Linked DNA regions of Homo sapiens: regions 2 and 3 are each linked to region 1. Evidence: promoter capture Hi-C in human tissues and cell types (Jung and others, 2019). All regions are on one chromosome and are shown on one strand. Each heading gives the region's core, a stretch centred on a gene start or on the middle of the fragment in contact. The rest is flanking DNA. Distances are from core to core; before and after follow the strand shown.

Region 1 (2,658 bases), core at 98-2,597:
TAGACTGCTTCCTAGAGAGTTGTTTGAACTCCTTATATATTTTGGTTATTAATCCCTTGTCAGATGGGTAGTTTGCAAATATTTTCTCCCATTCTGTGGGTTCTCTCTCCACTTTGTTGATTGTTTCCTTTGCTGTGCAGAAGCTTTTTAACTTGATGTGCTCCCATTTGTCCATTTTTGTTTTGGCTGCCTCTGTTTGTGAGGTATTACTCAGGAAATCTTTGCCCACTCTAATGTCCTAGAGAGTTTCCCCAATATTTCCTTTTAGTAGTTTCATAGTTTGAGGGCTTAGATTTAAGTCTCTAATCCATTTTGACTTGATTTTTGTATATGGTGGGAGGTAGTGGGTCTGGTTTCATTCTTCTGCATACGGGTATCAGTTTTCCCAGTATCATTTATTGAAGAGACTGTCTTTTCCCCAATGTATGTTTTTGGTACCTTTGCTGAAAATGAATTCACTGCAGACATATGGATTTGTTTCTGGGTTCTCTATTCTGTTCCTGTTTTTATGCCAGTGCCATGCTGTTTTGGTTACTATAACTCTGTTGTATAATCTGAAGTCGGGTAATGTGATGCTTCCAGTTTTGTTCTTTTTGCTCAGGATAGCTTTGGCTATTCTGGCTCTTTTGTGGTTCCATATAAATTTTAGGATCTTTTTTCTATGACTGTGAAGAATGTCACTGGTATTTTGATGGAGGTTGCATTGATACCTCTTAATTTTCTAAGGGTTTTCCTTATCTCTTAATTTTCTAAGGGTTTTCCTAAATAAGAGTACTAGTTTATTCTTGCTGCCAGGTGATGCTTGGTAAAGAAAGAAATGGCGGTGGATGGACCACCCTAACTCCATGATTCCAATCTTACTCAGCTTTCTAAGAGACTCGTAAGGAACCTGCTTCTTCTTATCCAGACACCCACTCACCACAGTCTAACCAAATCATCATTTTGCCTTTCAACCCAGAGGGACAGACAGTAATTTTACCCATCCACCCCATAACGCCAAACACACGTCATCATGCAGAATTTGGTGTCAGAACTGGAAGGGACTCTATGATCACTCAGGCTAATACCTCACTGTACATATGAGAAAACCCAGAGTACAGAAAAAGAAGCGACCAAGCAGCAGGGGCTTGACTTGGAGTCTAGTGCTCTTTCCCCAGTCTAGGCTCCCTCCTGCCATCTAACAAAATGAAGCCAATTTCTCTTACGGTTCTAGGGCCTCTCCTTCGCGTCTCTGCTGTGGCACCTTTCCTTAGCCGCCTCTCCGACTGCGAGAGCTGATCGAGAGCTGCCACCGGCCGCCGAAGCCTGGATCAGGCTCTGTCCCGACGCCTGACCGGAACCTGAAGCCAGCGGAAATCCTGAGAGAAAGTCTGAAACCCACTCAGTCCCCGAAACCTTGTGTGTCGTCACTGCTGTGCGTCGGCGGGAGCATTTTGCGAGTGTCCGGGGGCCTTCGTCACTTCCGCCCCCGCGGCAAAGCAGGGAGGTCGGAGGACTGGAGAGGTGGGGACCCTGGGGAGGTGGCTGCTCGGAGTCTAGGTGACGGGGCGAGACGGGGCCGGTAGGTGGCGGGAGGGGCCGGGCCGGAGCCGGCGGGAGGGCCAGGCCCGGAGGCCCCCACCCTGGCGTGCCTGCCCCGGCCGCGGCTGAGGAGGAGGAGGAGGAGGAGGAGGAGGAGGATGATCTCCAGATACACTCGGAAGGCGGTGCCACAGAGCTTGGAGCTGTGAGTGGACTGCTCAGCCACCCCAGCCGGGGCGGGCGGCGGGCGCTCTGGGGACCCTCCTTGACCAGTCCTTCGTTCCTTTCCTTTCCCAGGGCTGGGGAGAGATTTTTCTTCGGAATTCTCTCCTCTCAGCCCTGCTGGACCCTGCCCCTTCTTCCTCCATCTCCAGCTGAGGGCGTGTCGCCCTTCGTCTGAAATTCCTGAAATCAAGCACTGGGTCTGCTGAAGCATTTGTAGCATCCGCAGTGCTTCAGGTCCCATTGTTAATGGCCATGGTAGCTCGAGAAGTTATTAATAGCTAACTGAGGGCTCCAGGAAAGTGCTCACTTGACACTGTGCAAAGCTATTTACATACATTTGCTCATTCCTATCAATGATATCAGATTGGGAACATTATTTTGCACATTCTACAGATAAAGATCCCAGAATTAAAGATTGTAGCATGCCAAAGATCACACAGCTTGAAGGTGGTAGAGCTGAGAGGTACAAACCTGATGTCGATCTGATTCCGAAGCCTGTGGTCATAACCATCACACATACTGCCTCCCCACCTCTGCAATTAAGCACCAGAATCCATAAAGATCAGTTTTGCTTTTGAGACTTTAAAGAGCAAATATTTCTGGCTTTAAAAAGATCCACCCTCACGGCCGGCCGTGGTGGCTCACGCTTGTAATCCCAGCACTTTGGGAGGCTGAGGCGGGCGGATCACTTGAGGCCAGGAGTTCGAGACCAGCCTGGCCAACATGGCGAAACCCCATCTCTACTAAAAATGCAAAAAAAAAAAAAAAAATGGCCGGGCATGGAGGCGGGGGCCTGTAAACCCAGCTACTTGGGAGGATGAGGCAGGAGAATCACTTGAACCCGGGAGGCAGAGGTTGCAGTGAGCAGAGGTCACGCCATCGCACTCCAGTCTGGGTGACAAGAGTGAAACT
Region 2 (2,658 bases), core at 106-2,605, 470 kb after region 1:
CTGGGTTTAAGGGCTTGAGGGGACAAAAAAATTTTTTTTTCTTTTTTAGAGACAGGATCTCACTCTGTCGCCCAGGCTGGAGTGCAATGGCACAATCATGCCTCACTGCAGCCTCAACCTCCCTGGGCTCAGGTGATCCTCCAACTTCAGCCTCCCAAGTAGCTGGGACTATAGGTGCGCACCACCGTGCCTGGCTAATTTTTGTATTTTTTGTAGAAATGTGGTTTTGCCATGTTGCCCAGGCTGGTCTCAAACTCCTGGGCTCAAGCAGTCCTCCTGCCTCCCAAAGTGCTGAGATTACAGGGGTGAGCCACTTCACCTGACCCAGATTTTCAAAGAAGCATGTATTTCCCCAAAAGGTGAAAACTTGCGCTTTAGGGCTTCTCTTTTCTTGGGATACAGGACAGGAAGTATAGATGCACACCAGCCCCTGTTGTCTACCAACCTGTTGTGAGCTGTTTTTCATAGAGTCAGTGCAGGAATTAGGAACATAGCTAGGTGTGGGGAGTGTTTAAAAAACAATAACACAAGCAGGGCAATGCACCCAGGTTTCATTGGCTTGGCATGATTTGAAGTTTTTATTTGCACTGGGATATCAGACTGGGGCTGTGATTCCAGGCTCTGGTCTCTCCTCAGTCTTCCCCCAGTCCCCAGGAGGACAGAGAAATATTCTGCCAGGGTTGAGGAGATTCAGCCAAAAACACTCTCCATAGGAAGGAGAGGTTGTTGCTCCTTCATCAGGCCAGCTGGAACATGGCCTGGGAAGTCATGGCCCTGCTCCTGCAATCACTCCCGCCACAGACCCCAGAGTGGAGGCAGGTGTGGAACTGGGAAGGGTAGGGAGCATTCAAATCCCGACACGTCAATTCAGCAATATCATAGCAGTGGGGAATTGAGGTGGGGCAGAAACATAGTAATAGGATCTGGCAATGGAAAGGGACAAACTGGGATAAGATGGACTCCAATCCCTTCTTAAGAGAAGTTGGCACTCAGTGAAATGCTGTCCTCTTCTAAGTCCTGTCTCAAAAAATACATCTGCAACTCTACTGACTTAGTGGGGTCTCCCTTCCCATTCTTCCAGTGCCTCCCCCGACATCTCCATTCCCCCCAACCTCCTGGGCCCCTCTCCTTCCAACTCTCCTTCCCCTCTCCTTCCAACTGGACAGCTGGGAGCTGAGCATAGATGAGGAGAGGGGAGACTCCCCCAGGATCAAGAATCACAATTGTAGACACAGACACAGAAGTCAACACAGTGGGCTCCAGCCTTTCTAACGATAGAGCTGGAGACTTACCGGCTGCTCGGGCAGTGGTCAGCTCTCCCTGGGGTCCAGCAGCTTTGGAGGACTGAGCTGCTGTGACCGGAGAACACGAGCTGGGCAGGCGTGGGGGCAGCACTGGCAGTGGGGGAGGGAAGTTGGTTATTAATAGAGATGATGAGCGCAAGCAGCTCAAATGGCACAGGGGGTACTGAGACCCTGGAACCAAGATCCCTCCCTCCTTGCCCGGAGGCTCAGGAAGGAGGGAAAAGGCCTTTGGGATTCTCCCACTGAACTGTCTGAGCCAGGGATCAGTCTGCCCAGGGACTCCCCTTCACATTGCACCTAGAGCCTGAGATCCAAAGAAGCACTTAGGGAGAAACTGAAGACTGAGAGGGAGACAGGAAGTAGACAGCAAGTATTGGATAGGAATTCAGTCAGAGAGAGAGAGTCTGGGGAACATGCCCTGAGGGCCACACAGAGCCAATCCAGGGCAGAGTGGAGAGACCTGTGGGTGTATTTGGAGCAGGGAGGGCTTAAAGTGCTATATTTGGGGACAAAAAGGGAAGTCTTCACAGTGGAACTGCTCTTTTAAAGTTCCTGGATAGGTTGGTCTTTTCTCGGTAAGGGCTAGATCTTGGCAGGTTAAGGGACCAAATTAACTAAACCCAGTACCTCCTACAAAGGAATGATGTGGGGAAGACTTGACAATTATTCTGTCTGCCTCACTCCCTATTCTTTCCTCTTGAGCTCTGGCAGTTTTAATAAAAGACAAACACTTGGATCTGCATTTTTTTTTTTTTTTTTTTGAGATGGAGTTTCGCTCTTTTTGCCCAGGCTGGAGTGCAGTGGTGCGATCTCGGCTCACTGCAACCTCCACCTCCTGGGTTCAAGCAATTCTCCTGCCTCAGCCTACTGAGTAGCTGGGATTACAGGTGTCCACCACCATGCCCGGCTAATTGTTGTATTTTTAGTAGAGACGGGGTTTCACCACGTTGGCCAGGCTGGTCTCAAACTCCTGACCTCAGGTGATCCACCCACATTGGCCTCGCAAAATGTTGGAATTACAGGCGTGAGCCACCGCCAGGATCTGGTCTCTAAGGAGTTATTCTCTAGCCACCACGCCCAGCCAGGATCTGCCTTTTAACCTCCATTTGCTGTTGAGATGCTCAGTTCAACCTGCTGTGCGGGATAGACATCGATGTCTCCCTGAGAAGCACATATAGGCTCTCTGAGGTTTCTTTTCTTCTTCTTTTTTTTTTTTTTTTTTGAGACGGAGTCTCGCTCTGTTGCCCAGGCTGGAGTGCAGTGGCGCAATCTCGGCTCACTGCAAGCTCCACCTCCCAGGTTCACGCCATTCTCCTGCCTCAGCCTCCCGAGTAGCTGGGACTACAGGCGCCCA
Region 3 (2,658 bases), core at 101-2,600, 450 kb after region 1:
GTGGTGGCGGGCACCTGTAATCCCAGCTACTCCGGAGGCTGAGGCCAAGAGCAAAACTCTGTCTCAAACAAACAGGTCGGATGCGGTGGCTCACCACTGTAATCCCAGCACTTTGGGAGGCTGAGGCGGGTGGATCGCCCAAGGTCAGGAGTTGGAGACCACCCTGGCCAACATGGCGAAACCCCGTCTCTACTAAAAATACAAAAATTAGCTGAGCTCGGTGGCACGTGCCTGTAATCCCAGCTACTCAGGAGGCTGAGGCAGGAGAATCGCTTGAACCTGGTAAGCAGAGGTTGCAATGAGCCAAGATTGTGCCACTGCACTCCGGCCTGGGTGACAGAGCAAGACTCTGTCTCAAAAAACAAACAAATAATACAAAGATGTAAAATTTGAATTTCAACCAGAAAACCGTACTTTGGACTTTGGAATATAGAGTGAAAAAAAAAACCTGAAAGCAAATATATAAAAACATGTGACACATACATACATTTTTCTCAATATAAAAAAACTACAGTATGAAGGCGGGGCACAGTGGCTCACGCCTGTAATCCCAGCACGTTGGGAGGCCGAGACGGGAAGATCACAAGGTCAGGAGATCAAGACCATCCTGGCTAATATAATGAAACCCTGTCTCTACTAAAAATACAAAAAATAGCCGGGCATGGTGGCGGGCACCTGTAATCCCAGCTACTCAGGAGGCTGAGGCAGAAGAATGGCATGAACCCAGGAGGCGGAGCTTGCAGTGAGCCAAGATTGCGCCACTGTACTCCAGCCTGGGCGACACAGGGACACTCCGTCTCAAAAAAAAAAAAAAAAAAAACTACTGTATGAAAATATGTTTGACTAAATGCCTTAAAGTCTGTTGTAATAACATTTCCCCTATATATGAATACAGATAACCATTTCCACTACTAAAATGATCACTTGCTGGAAGCTTACAAATATATAATTGCTTGCTACAACTATTTTCCCAAGCATAGCTCCCTATACAATTATACACAGCAGAAATTTGGTAATTTACTCAATTCTCTATATAACAATACAAATTTTGTATTTAGCACCATGCTAACATTCACATTAGTTCCCCATAGGTAGTGTAAATATCTGAGGGAGAAAATGTATGAGTAAAAAAACAGATACCCCTATCCATTTATACCTTCCAAGTCCCACCCAGAATTCTGGTGTCCTGGCCAGTTCCACCTGCAACCTCTCCCCACTTCCTCCATACCAAGACTCCCTCCTTCCCTACAAAAGAAAGAAATCTTTCTTAGTATATTAGAATCACATAAATTTCCCACACCAATCTCTATTCTACCATCTACTAGCTCAATAATCTTTGGTAACTTCCTGAACTTTTTAAGCCTTGGTTTTCTTTAAAGTAACTAGTACCAGCTGCAGAGCAGAGTGTTGTTATAAGATAAAATGAGATAATGTGCCTGGCACATTAATAATCACTCAATGAATGTTATCTATTATTATTATTGCCTTAAGACTGTTGTAATATTTATTTATTTATTTATTTATTTATTTATTTATTTATTTTGAGACAGAATCTTGCCTGTTGCCTAGGTTGGAGTATAGTGGCATGATTTCGGTTCACTGTAACCTCCGCTTCCTGGGTTCAAGCGATTCTCCTGCCTCAGCCTCCCGAGTGGCTGGAATTACTGGCAGGCATCACCATGCCCAGCTAATTTTTGTATTTTTAGTAGAGATGGGGTTTCACCATGTTGGCCAGGCTGATCTCAAACTCCTGACCTCAACTGATCCGCCCACCTCAGCCTCCCAAAGTGCTGTGATGACAGGCCTGAGCTACCGTGCCTGGTCCGTATTTATTTACATCTACAGTAAAGGAGTACTAAAAAAGACTAATAGGACCAGCGAGGTGGCTCACGCCTATAATCCCAGCATTTTGGGAGGCTGAGGTGGGAGGATCACTTGAGCCCAGGTGCTTGAGATCAGCATGGGCAACATAGGGAGATCCTGTCTCTAGAAAAAGTACAAAAATTAGCCAAGCACCTGTAGTCCCAGCTCCTGGAGAGGCTGAAAAGCAAGAGGATTCCTTAAACCCAGGAGACTGAGGCTGCAGTGAGCCGTGATTACTCCACTGCACTCCAGCCTGGGCAACAGACAACTCGTCTTTAAAGAAAAAAAAAAAAAAGGGCTTAAATTATGAACTGACCAGTGAATTTTCTCCTCAAACTTCCATTCTTTTATCTCTTCTGAGAAACTTACTATGTGTTTCACTAAGGCAGCACAGTTTAGTTTGGTTAACACTTTGTAATTTTGAAAACTCTTAGGCTGGGCATGGTGGCTCAAGCCTGTAATCCCAGCGCTTTGGGAAGCCAAGCTGCCAAGGCAGGAGGATTGCTGGGTAACATAGCCAGACCAGCTTAGGCAACATAGCAAGACCTCGTCTCTACAAAAAAAATTTTAATAATTAACTGCGCGTGGTTGCATGCACCTGTGGTCCTATCTACTCAGGAGGCTGAGGTGGGAGGAAAGCTTGGGCCCAGGAGGTTGAGGTGGCAGTGAGCTGTGATGACACCACTGCATTCCAGCCTGGGCAACAGAGCAAAACCCTGTCTCAAAAAAAGAGAAAAGAAAATTCTTACTTTGGGAGGCTGAGGCAGGAGTATCACTTGAGCCCAGGAGTTTGAG

Evidence for each region. The method cuts DNA at HindIII sites, captures the fragments that hold promoters and counts their contacts. A contact is called where the count stands out against the background at its distance.
Region 2: the fragment with the promoter of MYOZ1 here is called in contact with the fragment with the promoter of ECD in region 1 in 1 of the 25 tissues and cell types used here (adrenal gland).
Region 3: a contact is called between a fragment that was not itself captured here and the fragment with the promoter of ECD in region 1, in 1 of the 25 tissues and cell types used here (hippocampus).

The regions. Positions count from the first base shown.
Region 1 is chr10:73,166,661-73,169,318 of GRCh38, forward strand. It overlaps ECD (ecdysoneless cell cycle regulator), which reads right to left and starts at 1,348. Exons shown (of 14, transcript NM_007265.3): 1 at 1,206-1,348. FAM149B1 (family with sequence similarity 149 member B1) reads left to right here and starts at 1,459. Exons shown (of 14, transcript NM_173348.2): 1 at 1,459-1,726. The coding sequence starts at 1,680. RefSeq lists enhancers at 1,167-1,766, 1,273-1,472, 2,367-2,658 and a silencer at 1,523-1,712. The HindIII fragment of the contact is 5,079 bases long and covers 1-2,658 here.
Region 2 is chr10:73,640,119-73,642,776 of GRCh38, forward strand. MYOZ1 (myozenin 1) reads right to left here and starts at 1,356. Exons shown (of 6, transcript NM_021245.4): 1 at 1,293-1,356. The HindIII fragment of the contact is 11,584 bases long and covers 1-2,658 here.
Region 3 is chr10:73,620,800-73,623,457 of GRCh38, forward strand. It overlaps a transcript of USP54 not described here. Among named protein-coding and RNA genes, the nearest start is that of MYOZ1, 19 kb to the right of the region's middle. The HindIII fragment of the contact is 4,845 bases long and covers 1-2,658 here.